2 separate regions of the Homo sapiens genome follow, and region 2 is linked to region 1. Evidence: promoter capture Hi-C in 16 types of primary human blood cells and fetal thymus (Javierre and others, 2016). All regions are on one chromosome and are shown on one strand. Each heading gives the region's core, a stretch centred on a gene start or on the middle of the fragment in contact. The rest is flanking DNA. Distances are from core to core; before and after follow the strand shown. Region 1 holds the start of TRAF3IP1 (TRAF3 interacting protein 1). Region 2 has its middle 61 kb from the start of TWIST2.

What was found. The method cuts DNA at HindIII sites, captures the fragments that hold promoters and counts their contacts. A CHiCAGO score of 5 or more calls a contact.
Region 2: a fragment that was not itself captured here is called in contact with the fragment with the promoter of TRAF3IP1 in region 1 in 1 of 17 cell types (M0 macrophages); the score reaches 5.1 in M0 macrophages.

Annotation. Positions count from the first base shown.
Region 1 is chr2:238,316,450-238,324,119 of GRCh38, forward strand. TRAF3IP1 (TRAF3 interacting protein 1) reads left to right here and starts at 4,069. Exons shown (of 17, transcript NM_015650.4): 1 at 4,069-4,336. The coding sequence starts at 4,214. RefSeq lists silencers at 3,723-4,202, 4,333-4,562. The HindIII fragment of the contact is 10,073 bases long and covers 1-7,670 here.
Region 2 is chr2:238,782,917-238,790,401 of GRCh38, forward strand. No RefSeq gene overlaps it. Among named protein-coding and RNA genes, the nearest start is that of TWIST2, 61 kb to the right of the region's middle. RefSeq lists an enhancer at 572-1,075. The HindIII fragment of the contact is 685 bases long and covers 5,085-5,769 here.

The DNA of each region.
Region 1 (7,670 bases), core at 2,819-5,318:
TGAGCCCTGGCCCCTTTCATCTGGCCTCTGTCTAGGTGACCAAAGCTCACTTGGTCCTGGATATAGTTAGCAGCATGAGGAGTGATGTTCCTAGGACCAGTGGACAGCATGGACGCTGCCTTCTAGAAGGTCTTAACTCCCCATTAAATCCCCAGCACTCAGACAGTAATCCATACATAGCAGTGATTCAGTAAATGCTTGAATGATACTTGATGTGGTATCTTCACTAGAGATATATGAATATTTAGCAAGGGCAGGGAAATATGCTCAAAATCACTAATCACTACAGAAATGTAAATAGGAACCATAACAAGACACCATTCCACACCCGTAGAAAGATGAACGTTAAAAAAGACTGACAGGGGCCGGGTGCGGTGGCTCACGCCTGTAATCCCAGCACTTTGGGAGGCTGAGGTGGGTAGATCTTGAGGTCAGGAGATTGAGACCATCCTGGCCGACATGGTGAAACCCTGTCTCTACTAAAAAATACAAAAAATATCTGGGCGTGGTGGCAGGCACCTGTAGTCCCAGCTACTCAGGAGGCTGAGGCAGGAGAATGGCATGAACACGGGAGGCGGAGCTTGCAGTGAGCCAAGACAGTGCCACTGCACTCCAGCCTGGGCGACAGAGCAAGACTCTGTCTGCGGGGTGGCGGGGGGGTGCAGGTGGGAAGACTGACAGGCTGGGCACAGTGGCTCACACCTGTAATCCCAGCACTTTGGGAGGCCAAGGCGGGCAGATCACCTGAGGTCAGGAGTTCGAGACCAGTCTGGCCAACATGGTGAAACCCCATCTCTACTGACAATACAAAAATTAGCTGGGTATGGTGGCGGGTGCCTGTAATCCCAGTTACTCAGGAGACTGAAGCAGGAGAATCACTTGAACCCAGGAAACAGAGGTTGCAGTAAGCTGAGAGCATGCCATTGCACTCCAGCCTGGGCAACAGAGCAACACTCCATCTCAAAAAAAAAAAAAAAAAAAAAAAACCCAAAAACAAAAAGAAGAAGAAAAACAAAAAGACTGACAATACCAGATGTTGGCAGGGATATGGAGTAACTTGGGATTCAATATATTGCTGGTGGGAATGAATGATGATGCAGCCACTTTAAAAACAGCATGGTAGTATTTGTAGAGTTAAACATATTCTTACCATACAACCCAACAATTCCAATACAAGAGAAATGAAAACTTTCACAAAGACTTGTAAGTGAATGGTTATAGCAGCATTTTTTTTTTTTTTGAGACAGAGTCTCACTCTGTCACCCAAGCTGGAGTTCAGTAACACGATCTCAGCTCACTGCAACCTCCGCCTCCCAGATTCAAACATTTCTTGTGCCTCAGCCTCCTGAGTAGCTGGAATTACAGATGCACCCCACCACGACTGGCTAATTTTTGTATTTTTAGTAGAGACAGGGTTTCACCACATTGGCCAGGCTGGTGCTGAATCCCTGACCTCAAGTGATCTGCCCACCTTAGCCTCCTGAAGTGCTGGGATTACAGGTGTGAGCCACCATGCCTGGCCAGCAGCATTATTCATAAAAAATAAAAAACTGAAAGCAACCCAAATGTCCATCAACTGATGAATAAACAAATTACACTATGAAATACCATTCAGCCACAAAAAGGAATGGCATATTAATATACGTGTAACAATATGAATGAATCTCAAAAATATAAGAGAAATAATGAAATACAAAAGACTGTGTACTGCATGATTCCATTTATATGAAACTCTAGAAGAGGCAAAATTATAATGACAGAAACCAGATTAGTGGCTGCCTGGGGCTGGGGTGGGGAAGGAGATGGGCTGCAAATAAGCAGCAAGAAATGTTTTAGGGTGCAGGGACTGTTCTGTATTCTGATTGTGGTGGTGGTAACATAATTGTATATAATTACCAAAATGTATCAACCTGCACACTTAAAATGTGTGAATTTTATTGTATGTAAATAATAAAATATAAATTTTAAGTAGAAGAGACCCCCACATCTAGATATACCATGTGCAAACTTCTGGCAAACCAATAATAAAAATAAAATCTTGAAGGCAGCCAGAAACAATAGACAGAAGAACAAAGAATTACGGAAGACTTTTATTCAGAAACTACGCAAGCCAGAAGTCAATGGAGTAACATCCTTAAAGTACTGAAAAACAAAAACAGTCAGTCTAGAATGCTACACTTTTCTTTTTGTTTGTTTTTGTTTTTTAAAGACAGAGTCTTGCTCTGTTGCCCAGGCAGGAGTGCAGTGGTGCCATCTTGGCTCACTGCAAGCTCCAACCCCCGGGTTCAAGCGATTCTTGTGCCTCAGCCTTCCAAGTAGCTGGGGTTACAGGCACACACCACTACGCCCAGCTAATTTTTATATTTTTAGTAGAGACAGGCTTTCACCATTTTGGCCAGGCTGGTCTCAAACTCCTGACCTTAAGTGATCTGCCTGCCTCAGGCTCCCAAAGTGCTGGGATTACAGGCGTGAGCCACTGTACCCCTAGAATTCTTTTTTTTTTTTTTTGAGACGGAGTCTCACTCTGTCACCCAGGCTGGATTGCAGTGGCATGACCTCGGCTCACTGCAAGCTCTGTCTCCTGGGTTCAGGTGATTCTCTTGCCTCAGCCTTCCTGGTAGCTGGGATTACAGGCGCCCGCCTCTGCACCCAGCTAATATTTTGTATTTTAAGTAGAGACGGGGTTTCACCATGTTGGTCAGGCTGGTCTCGAACTCCTGACCTCCCAACTCTAGAATTCTATACTTCTATGCTTAATAAATATTTGTGGCTGAATTTACTGGAGGTGGTTATAGGGGGACATGGAAGGAAAACTATAAAAATGCAATTTAGTATTTGTTGATAAACCATACAGCCTGACTGGCATTGAAATTGGTTGTCTGTATAACTTTTCCATTACCAACTGAACTGTGCTAGAAGAAATATTAAAGGAAGTTCTTCAGACAGGAGGGGTATGACACCAGATGGCGATTTAGATCTCCACAAAAAATGAGGAGGCCTGAAAATGGTAAAAATGAAGGTCAATTTAAAAGTTATAATGGGGGCGGTCGCGCACACCTGTAATACCAGCACTTTGGGAGGCCGATGCGGACGGATTGCCTGAAGTCAGGAGTTCCAGACCTGCCTGGCCAACATGGTGAAACCCCGTCTCTACTAATAATGCAAAAGCGAGGCTGGTGTGGTGTCGGGAGCCTGAAGTCGCAGCTACTCATGAGGCTGAGGCAGGAGAATCACTTGAACCTGGGAGGTGGAGGTTGCAGTGAGCCAAGATCGTGCCACTGCACTCCAGCCTGGGCGACAGAGTCAGACTTCGTCTCAAAAAAAAAAAAAGGTTATAATGGTGTTCTCATTAGAAGAACTACAGACCCCAGAGCTCTCAAATCGCCGGAAGGATTTCTGCGGTAGGCCTGTGCATGATGGACAGAGGACAGGTGGTAAAGAATCACGGACACCTAGTAGGACAACTAGGCATGGCTTTGTCCCGGTTTCAGAGCACCGACACAGCATTTAGTCACCATTTACCTTCTTGGGAGGTGGGTTAGGCAGCGGGCACACTAGTCCTGCTTTGTGGGAGCAGAAGTGAAGTCTCAGAGAAAACAGGTGACTTGCCCAAGAAGCCTTATTAATTACCAGCCAGGACAGCGTATTTTCTATTCCGTGTGTTTTGGGATAACTTAGTGCCGTCCCCTCCGATGAACCAGTGCCTTCGAAAGCCCTTGAGATTTGGGAAACAGGCGGCACAGATCTTGGAGGTTACCTTGTTCTTAATCAGTCCTCAGGCAGTCGCCTCTAACGCGAGCGAACACCGGCTTCCCGAGGCCGTCGCTCGGCAGAGGAGGGGCCAGGCGCCCGATCCCAGATCCCCTTTCCCCGCCCCGCCGCGCCCCGCCTGCTCTGGCACAGCCGCACTCCCGCAAATCCCTCCCGCGGAACCCCCACTCCTGCCTGCGCGGGCGCTGGAAGGCGGGCAGGGGGCGGGGCGCCGCGGCGCGTCCGTTGCTAAGGCCGCGCAGCCCTAGTGACCGAACGCCCTGCGGCGGCCGCGCAGGCGCTGTGGTGGGCTCCGGTGCACTGTGGGATGGAAACCGGAGCGGCGCGTCCTGGCAGGACCGGGCGGCGGCGGCGGCGGGGCCGGCGGCGGCCAGGGACCCGGGCTTAGGCTCGGCCAGGCCGGCTGAGGGGCGCGGGCGGCCAGCGGGCGGCGGACGCCGTCATGAACGCGGCGGTGGTGAGGCGGACGCAGGAGGCGCTGGGGAAAGTGATTCGGAGGCCGCCGCTGACCGAGAAGCTGCTGAGCAAGCCCCCGTTCCGCTACCTGCACGACATCATCACGGAGGTGGGCGCCGGGGACCGGGCCCGGCCAGGTGCGGGTCGGGATTCCGGTGGGCGCCGAGGTCAGGGCCCGGGCCGGGTGGCGCCGGGTGCGAGCCGGGCTCGGGCTCAGGTGCGGGTCGGGGGCCGGGGCTGGGCCGGAGTCGGGGCCCGGGCCGGGTGTGAACCGGGTGTGGGCCGGGCTCGGGGTGCAGGTCGGGGACCTGTTCAGGGCCGGGTGTGGGCCGGGCACAGGGTGCGGGTCGGGGGCCGGGGTCAGTTCCGGGGTCGGGGCGAGAGTTCTGTGCGGCCCCTGCCTGGGAGCCCGGCCTGTAGGCCCAATTCCGCGGCGCCCTCCGTGAGGAGGTCCTGCCCCTCCCCCGGCTCCGGGCCGCCGCTTACAAGGAGGCTCCGGGCCCTCAGGAGCATTCTTACTTCTTCCCTGCCTGCCCTTGTATTTCCTTAGAGTGCATCTTCCATTATTGCTGGCAGAGCTGCTTCTGTGACTCCTGCCTCGTCTAACCTTGCAGAACCCCTCTCGCTTGCCCTGAAGTATGTAGCACGTGGAAGGCACTCCCTAAATCCTGGGAGAATGGAAATAATATTTTTTATACAACCCTTCTGCCCCAAAGTTTCCCTCCATACCACATTTTGGGTGCTTAATAAATGCCTGCGGGTGGATTTAGTGGAGGCGGCTGTAGGGGGACTTGGCAGGAAAGACTGTAACAGAGCTGCACAGCCTGCCCTACGTTGAGATTGGTGGTCTCTGTAGCTTTTTCCACTTGCGGATGGTGTGCTCCTCCGTGACGGAGACCCTGGCTTGCTTATTAGCATGGCTCTGGTGATCTGCACTGGGTAAGGTACATAGAAATTGCACAACAAACATCCCCTGTTGAGTGGGACCTGTCAAGGCTCGTGGTAACTCCCTGGTAACTCTCAGGAGCGTCACTGCAGCGGGCGCAGCACCCATTTCCATGGTGGACCCAAGGGCACGTGGGAACTCAGAGGTGTGTTTTGGGATTTAGGATTCAGGTTGGACTTGCAGACTTCCAGGGCCTCATGACCTCACCTGGTGATGGTCCTCAAGCTCTGTTTCTCACTCTTTTCAACAGGTTGGGTGCCTTATTCTTGCACAGACTTTGCTTTACTGGTTCTGCCCTCCTACCTTAGCTTATAACGTGTGGTCTCCTGGAGCGTGTGCCTCTGTGTTAAAACAGTGCCTAAAAATGCTCTCGAATCCACCCACATCCCAGGGCCTCGCCAGCCCTGGTCATGTCCTCCCAGCTGGTGCAGCACTTACAGCCTGTCCTGGACAGTGTGTGGGGAGAGGACCTGCTGTGTGGATAGCCCGGTGGGAGGGGGACAATGTGCCGCATCACCACCGTCCCGTGAAGTAGGCGGGTACCCGTCCTCTGACCCAGAGGGAACAAGAGCCAGTGTGAGCCCAGCCCACTCTAGCTGTGGCTGCCAAAACCTTTATTCTCCCAGGCCTGTCTGTCCCACTGAAATGCAGAGCCCCAGGAGGGAGGTGCAGGGAGTGTGCCTTATCCTTGTGGGGCAGTGATGGCGCTCAGCTCACGGTGGCTGTCCAGTCACTACCGCATAGTTGGTCAGAGGAATCCTAATGGGAGAGGAGGAGGAACATGGGCTGGGTGCTGTGGCTCACGCCTGTAATCCCAGCACTCTGGGAGGCCAAGGCGGGCAGATCACTTGAGCCCAGATGTTCAAGACCAGCCTGGCCAACATGGTTAAAACTCCATCTCTACTGAAAATACAAAAATTAGCTGAGTGTGGTGGTGCACCTGTAATCCCAGCTACTCAGGAGGCTGAGTAGGGAAGATTGCTTGAGCCGGGAAGGTTGAGGATGCAGTGAGCTGTGATTGTAACACTGCACTCTAGCCTGGGTGACAGAGTAAGACCCTGTCTCAAAAAAAAAAAAAAAAAAAAAAAAAAAGAATTGCCTTCTTGGCCAGGTAGATAGGGTGTGTGGAACGAGTTGCATGTTCCCAATTAGGAACGACTGGTCTGCTCTTCTCCCATAGACTTCCTCATCTAATGCCAAAGTTGATTTCTCTCCCTGTGTAAAGATAAATAAATTATGACCTACTTGATAAAGTTGTTAGAATGACTGACATATTGGAAAGGATTTTCAGATAATAGGTGGAGAGCCTCTTATGAAAATGCTTTACTGTACTGAATATTATACACACATTGCTATATTAGTATTTTAGCTATAGCTACACTAACCACCCCGTTTCATTAAGCTAAGTGTGGATACTGTGACGTTAATGTCTCTTGTCACTTACAGTTATTGTTCACAATTTTTTTTTTTTTTTTAGAGGGATTCTTGCTCTGTCGCCCAGGCTGGAGTGCAGTGACACAGTCTCCACTCACTGCAACTTACGCCTCCCAGGTTCAAGCAATTCTCCTGTTTCAGCCTTCTGAGTAGCTGGGACTGCAGGCACATGCCACCATGTCCAGCTAATTTTTCTATTTTTAGTAGAGATGGGGTTTCGCCATGTTGTCCGGCCTGATCTCGAACTCCTGACCTCAGGTGATCCGCCTGCCTCGGCCTCCCAAAGTGCCGAGATTACAGGTGTGAGCTACTGTACCCAGCCTATTGCTCACAATTTTAACTGCCAGCATCCTGGGAAAACCTCAACAGGGACAAAATGAAAATGTTCCAGGAATGTTAAATGCAGGATGCTCTTAATATTCTACCTGTCATCTCAAGAAAAACAGTAGCATAGCTCTTACATAGTGTGGTGTGGAATGAAAACTCCTAGATTCATTAATACCTAACTTGATGCAAATTAAGGAGTTGTGGCTTGATTCCAGAGGAGGCTCTCATTAGGGTGGGACTGTCTTGTTTTTAAAACATGTCTTCCCGTAATAAATATGCTTTATTAGCTGACCTAGGATATGTGGCTATGAGCATACCTGTCCTTACCACATACCATGCAGCCTGCTGGTAAGGGTCCCAGCTATTCAAAATGCTTGTTGCTACAAATTGTATTGATTTTACAGTAACCTACCACATTTCAAAAAACTGCAGTCTGAGACAACCCAGGACCCTGGCTGGGTGTGGTGGTTGAGAGGAACAGGAAAAATAATTGCCCTAAAAGCTGGTTTTAGGGCTAATTAGGAGGTACAGGTTACCTGAGGGAAGGGATGATTAGGGAGAGAACCAAAGCAGTGAGGTGTGGAGCCTGCCACCATCTTAAGAAGTGAGTAGTGACACGTGGTGAGGAGAAAGACCCTTGCAGAACTTCTAGTCTTAGCAAACTAGGTTGAGAAATTCCTTTTCTTTTCTTTCTTTTTTTTTGAGGCAGAGTCTCACTGCGTTGCCCAGGCTGGAG
Region 2 (7,485 bases), core at 4,177-6,676, 470 kb after region 1:
GCACTGGTCTCCCCGAAATCTCTATCTTCCCAACTCAGAGAGTCTGCTGGGCTCTGCCTGAGTGGAGGAGATGCCTCCTTCTTGTTCTGTGGCCTGAAAACTCAAGGCAGTGCATTGGGCTACCATAGGGCTCAATGGTTTCCTTCCCATCCCACAGGGATCACTGTCCTTCACTGCCTCCTTCCAGTGTTCGGAAGACCGTTGTTTTTCATATTTGGTCTGCTTTTTGTGTGTTTTTGTTTCCTATGGAGGGTAAATTTGGTCTGTGACAAAGTCTTTGTGCTGTGGTTCTCTCCATCTGCGCTAGGTTGGCCTTCCTCATCTCAATGCCCCCATGCCTGACATGGCACCTGACATTCAGTCCATCTACACTAGGTCAGCCTTCCTTATCTCAACGCCTCCATGCCAGACATGGCACCTGACACTCAGTCCATCTGCACTAGGTCGGCCTTCCTCATCTCAACGCCCCCATGCCTGACATGGCACCTGACACTCAGTCCATCTGCACTAGGTCGGCCTTCCTCATCTCAACGCCCCCATGCCTGACATGGCACCTGACACTCAGTCCAACTGCACTAGGTCGGCCTTCCTCATCTCAACACCCCCATGCCTGACATGGCACCTTACACTCAGTCCATCTGCACTAGGTCAGCCTTCCTCATCTCAACACCCCCATGCCTGACATGGCACCTGACATTCAGTGGAAACTGCATGCGCGTAGATTACATGAACGGATGAGCAAATGAACTTAACTGGGAGTAACAAAGGGCGCTGAAGGCATTTGTCACCAGCTGAAGAAGTGTCACTGCTCTCTTCACACACATCTGTATATGTGTCTTGTTTCTCACGGTGATAGTTTTGAGGCCAAGGAACCTGTTGAATTAATTCATATCACATCCTTAAGGCTCAGTGACTTCGTTTTGCACAATGTAGGCTTTTAATAAATGTTTGCTTAATAAATAATTCATGGGTCGTTTAGACACGTGTCTGACAAACTTGGGTTGAAGTGTGAATGTAACAAATTTGTCTCTAATCCCAGCTGTGTGGAGTCTTTCTTCTCTGCTCTAGCACTGTGCTATCGACTACTGATAGCACCAGTCGGTAGCAGATCCCAGGACAAAATTATAGTTAAAAGATGCATGACCCATGGTGCCTTAACTTTCATATATGATGTCTTCATCTTTTCAAGGTGTTTAGATGACCATAGGAAGAAAAAGCGAGAGATAGAGGAAGTTAAAGAAGAAATGTTGGCTGCCATTGAAAACCAATCACAAATAAAGTTACAAAGTCAATTGGAAAGCAAGTGATTCTTCACAAATGCAAATCCTAGGACAGTGCCTGGCAGAGAGGAACTCCTCACTCCACCATTCTAATTCAATAATAGTCAGTTACTAAGGGCACAGCACTTTTAGGAGGAGCTCTCCCCTCTCCTACTTATGCAGAGGGGCCAAAGGATATATGACCAGGCTGTCAGCATGGGCTTCGAAGCGCTTGCATTGGGGATGCTAAAGGAAGCAGGTGCTGAGCATGAAGGAGATCAGAATCAATGAGTTACACAGGCGTGTATTCTCAACCAGAGGTGTGGCTGCACCATTAAGCCAGGGAAAGGTGGGCTGGGACACAGGACTCAAATAATCCCTCTGGCTGGACCAACGCAGAGGCCATGAAGACAGAGGAGTGGAATGTTGGGGAAAGGAGCTTTTCCATTTTTCTCTCCTTTCAGAGCCATTTTGCCTGTTTTCAAATCTAGTAACAGCATTGCTTCACCAGCGCAGTGTTGTAGATACAGCCTGTGGGTCACACCAGGATGCAATTACACTGCTGGCGGCACAGTGAGCCAAGAGGCTCTGGATGGAGCCTGGCCACCCAGCCTTCCCTCCTCAAAGTTTAGAAACTCGCCAACCCGACCCGCCTGCTGGAGGCATGGCTGCAAACCTGCAGGGTGCCACGTTTGATTTTTAAGCCTGGTGTGCTTCCTTGCCTAAATTACTTTGTGATGTATCATACTGAACCCTAAAATATTTTGTAGCCAGTTTTATTACGAAATGGATTCTATTTGGTGATTACAAAATATTCTGCTTTTAAGTAGTCTCAGTTCTTCAGCTGCTTCCACATGTGTGTTCAGCCTGTTGAAGAAGATGCGGGAGGCATTGAGCCTCCCAGAGAAAGACCCTGCAAGAGACTCCAGGGAAGAAAAACTCTCAAATTAAAGTTGTGAGCTCTGGCCCCCGCGTGCTGACAAAATCCATTGCATGCACCGCCCTCTTGTGGTCACGCAGCAGGTGACACACTTCAAAGGCAAGTTACACGGACTCTGCGCTTGGCCCCGGGGAACAGGTTCTCTGTTAGGAAAAGCGTTTCTGAACATTCCTTTATTCACATGTGCACGCACACAGCACTATAAGCAAGTGAGATCTGACATCAGGGCTATTCTCCCCTATCACAAGGAAATAACACAAATGTGGATTTTTTAAAAGCTCAGAACTGTGGGTGAAGATTCCAAAATCACAGGATGTCCAAACTGGAAAGGATCCTGACATGATCTTGATCAAATCCCCTCCATTTTTTTTTTTAAAGTGGTGGGGGGTTTGTGTGATCTTAGACAACTCACTGTATGTCCCAGAGACACATATTGACTTGCCTAAGATCACACAGCAAATCGCTGGTGTTGAGGTACAGGCCTCTGTCCCATGCCGGAAGTGGCTCTGGGACTCACCACTCCAGCTCTTCACTGGAGACGTCAGGAGACTGAGTCCAGCGAGGTCGAGAGGCCAGGGCCACGCAGGGAGCCCGAGAGCTGAGCTCTGGTGCTGGTCCCCTGGGCAGTGGGTCCCTTCTCCCATCTATGTCCTTCCCTGTTCTTGGGCAGGGACTGTCTCTTCCACCAGGACCTCTGTGCCCAGGACCGGACAAGAGGGGCTTGTGGCAAGTATGGACGGATGAAGGGGGCACCAACCAGGACTCAGGAAGAGCAGGGGCCAGAAGCAGGGCCTGGGCTAACTTATGGTTCAAATGGTAAATTTTATGTTATGTATATTTTACCACAGTGAAAAAGGAAACAGCAGTTTTAAACCCAAATTTAAAAAAAGGAAATAAAAAAAAAACTTAGGAACTTCTTTATGAGGCTACAGAGCAGCTACCACCAGCCCCATTTGACAAGAAAAATGCTATTCCCTTTTTTATTGTGGTGAAACATACATAACATAAAATTTGCCATTTTTATCATTTTAAGTGCACACTTCAGTGGCATTAAGCACATCTGCGCTGCTGTGCAACCGTCACCACTATTCAGCTCCAGAACTTTCCATCTTCCCAAATGAGACTCTGTCCCCCATGAAACACGAACTCCCTGTTTCCTCCCCCAGCCCTGGCACCCGCAATCCTACTTTCCGTCTCTATGATTTTGACCCCTTAGCTTCCTCATGTGAGTGGAATCGTGCAAGGTTCGTCTTTTTGTGGCTGGTTGTTTCACTCAGCAGAACATCCTTAGGTGCCGTCCATGTTCCCTTCCTTTCCAAGGCCGGGTGCTGTCCCACCCTACGGATAAATCACCTTTCGTTTCTCCATTCATTCATCAGTGGACACTGGGTTGCTTCCACAGTCCACGTGGTTTCACCGAAGCCTGGCAGTGGGAGCTGTCCCCTCTGGTGGACAGTGAACTCACTCTGGGGGAGGGGTCGAGTAACCATGGTCAGATGGCTCTTGCGGTGAGAGGTATGTGCCTGCTCTGAGCAAGGCACCCCGAAGGCTGAGGCCTCTCTGGAGGCTGGTAACTGTCACCCAGGCCACAGCATCTTGGGCAACCTGGATTCCTTCCTTTCCACCTGGGAAGCTTGGCTGACCTGGGGCCCAGCTCAGGCTGTAGCCAGGATCGGATGCTGTTTTAAATTTGGGATTGGATTCAGAAGGATCGGGAACCTGAAAGTCAACGTCCTTTCGGTTGATCTGAAAACACAAAACTCACTGGCTTTGCCAAAAAGGCAGTTCTCAAATTCGCAGCCAAAGAACGCATCGAACAGAAATAGCATTAGAGGGAGTGCGGGGATCCCTTCCATGTTACCGTGAAGTTCTCATACTGTTGAGCGAACGTGGGAGTCAGGGTGGAGAAAGCGTGGCCTGGCCGGCAGGGCACCGCACACTGTGCCGCTGTCTCCCCACTTCGTTTTCATTCTCTTTAAAAACCAAAACTGAAAAACCCTGCCCGTAACTACTTGCACTTATGTCCCAAACACCTCTGACTTCTCATCCGCATTCTCACTGAGGAACGTGATGCCAAGGAAGGGACTTTAAAAAATCTCTTAATTAATTATTGGTTATAATGAATGCCGAGGAGGGCACGTTTCCAAAACCCTCGTCTCCACGGTTTGCTTTCTGTTGTGTGTGCGTCCGTTGTAAACACAGCTTTCAGAATTTTCGCTGATGCTCAAGTGCTCTTTCCAGCAACAGCATTCATACACGCCAGGCCACTTCCCGCAAGTCATAATTACAACATAAAGCCAAATTAAATGTTCTAACGCTGTCGCTCCAACTCCTTCACATTTCCTTGCTCTTAGCAAACTTCCTTTTTTGAGTCCTGCAAAAGATTCGCTATTTTCCATTAAAGTAGACTCACTATTTCCTTCTAGAGTATTAAAAGTGCAAAGAGCCACAGGTAAAGCCTTCCTTTTCTCTGGTCTTACCGCATCCTTTGTCCAAACAAAGGCAGAAGTCCCCTGTCCCCCATGCAGTTGTATGTACGCAGAGAGCCCAGTCCCAGCTCCTAGGCGGTCAGACAGGCACCCCGAGTCACCACTGGCCTGCCAGCACCAGCAGCTCCAGGTCCCTGAAATCCAGCAGGCATAACCTAAGAGGTTACCTAGAGTTCAGTCAAGCTCCTCAAATAGCCACTAAGTGAAATGAGGAAAAGTTATGTAAAGTGAAGTAAAATCCTCAACAATGAAACACAAAGCTGTTATTCTCTTTTTATGAAACTCCAGTAAATTGTTTCAGAAAATGAAAGTGCCGGAAAAGAAATATTTCCATTGGGAACTAGAGATGCCCTGTGTTAAAATGGTCACACAGAAATCTGGACGACCAAGCTTTAAAGCTTTGGCTGTGTTTTAAGCTATAGCCTCGGTTCATTAGAATGGGATTTTTTTTTTTAACCAACAAACTTCTACTTTTTCTCTCTATGTGTTGTTCTGCTTAAGCCTCTGAAAACTAATTTATAAAATTGAAAATGTGTTCTTGTAGCAATTCCATACTTTCTAATAAACTTGATATAGACCCTTTTGTAGTTAATGGAATCCTTTTTTAAAATTATGTTTGAATTTTCATTTATTTGAGCTCTTAGAAAACTGTAGATTGCTAAATTGAAGTTTAAATGAATTTGTTCATTATAGCAGTTAAGAAGGCACCAAAGCCTCACCAGCAATTTCACAATTAATTAAAAATAAAAACTAATTTAAAATTATGCAGAAAAGGACACTACTTAAATCACACAGCTTTCTTTTTTTTGCTATAGCTGGGTGAGGTTTGAATATCCTAAACTCTTAAATGCAACTATTAAAATGATTAAACAGTGGGAGTAAAATATTGGCAAATGCAATATCAGCCTAGGTATAACTTCATTTTCATTATCTTGTGGTTTTTTTCTTTTAAAAATAATTTTAAATTAGTTTTTTTCCTTTTAAAAAGAAAAAACATCAAACCTGTGGCTTTATTGAAGGCTCTCTTTACACTTCATATTTTGGTGGAAATATTGCTAATTCCGAGTGTATCTTCTTGAAAAGCTTTCTGCAGAGGAAACGGGATGGTTCTAAATTCTGTCTTCTGATTTCTGACACAGCACGGTGAAATTTTTGATGAAACATCTATACCAGGCCTCCGGGCTTTCCTGAATTTGTCTAGATAAAGAAGAAGGACAAAAATCTTTTCCATCTGTAATTTTGTAAAGTTATAGAACATTTTTAAAACCTGCATTAAATTAGCAATGGAAAGAGTATTCTGTCTCCAAACATTTCTAGAATTGAGAATTTTTTTCTCTAATTCTAGTACATGCTTAACTTTACGCAACATTTTGCCCATATTTATGCATAGATATGCAAACACAATCATGGCAATGGAGAACACTTTTCTAAAAAGCATGGCCACAGTGCTACAATGAAGGTGCTTGGCCCATCAACTTGTTATATAATAAATACTTTTTAAAAAAAATCAGACTTAAAAATCCTAGTGGGCCTTGTGATAGAAAGTATATCATATAATTAGAAAACAAAATAACTGGAGTGGAAAGTTTCCTGAAACTAGCTTGATGCCGTATTCCACTTGACATTTACTGTTAAAGAAATTCAATGCACAAATTCAGCCACACCCAGACTCACCTTTGCATTTAAGTAGTCCAAGATGTTTGGAGGAGAACTGGTGTCCCAGTGTTCAGACATGGGTGAACCAGCTCTCCCTGCCCAGGCACACGAGCGTGATTCTATCCTGCAGTTTCCTGGATCTGTCATGTGGAAGCAGGCGACATCGTCTTTGATTTTATCATACGAGAGTGTTCCCACTGCATTTGTGCAGTGGCTACACCTGGCTGCTTCCACACCACACACTTCTGAAAACCCCACTGTGTTGTCTCTGTCTTGGAGGGAAAACAAGTTTGTGTGCTTTTTCTGGGTTCATTAGCAGAGCTGGTTGCCTGAGTTGGGTCCCAGCACTGCTCCTGCTGGTAAAGTTCTGCAGGTGTGTGGCTTGTCCTCTAGTTCAGCGGGAGAAACCGATTCTAAGGTTGCCGTATAATTAGCAGGGTCTCCTTTCCCTCCTTTAATCAGCTGCTAACACCTCCTGGCTGTTTAATATCACAGTCAGCCCAGTTATAAACACTAAAGGACATGCTCTTGAAATAATTAAAAAAAAAACTCTGCTCAGTAACAAACATAAAACCCGTCATTATTTAATACAGAGGAATGTTGTGTTATAACAAAATGGTGGTCTTATTCCTGATGCTTTATTCTGATTGTGGGATTTTTTTTTTTTTTTTGAGGAGGCAACTTCTCTGTATAAGGAAACATTGTATCTTTTGTTTACTTTCATCCATCTGATCTGAGACAAAATACACAACAATCTTTCACTCAAGAGCAATTAGTCCTATTCCTGTTTCAGAAAAGGGTTGAACATGTAGACTCAAAGAAGAGAGAATTCTCCCCAAAATGACTATCCATTAAGTCGTAAACATGACTTGGAGGTTAATTTCCTATAGCAAATAACCGTAATTTCCTTGAAATCTAGTTCTTTATGTAATTAAAGTTATTTATTTGAGGACTTAAATGTACTTTAACATTTTACATGCCCTTAGTATCTGTGTAAAATTCAATATTTGGAGCCTGGGGCTGCATTCCCCTGCATATATAATTGCACCGCTGCTCTAACTCACACTGATATTCTTGTGACGATAGATGAAAATGCTAATGTACCGAGGAAAGGGAACGGGAGACAATCTGCGAATACCAG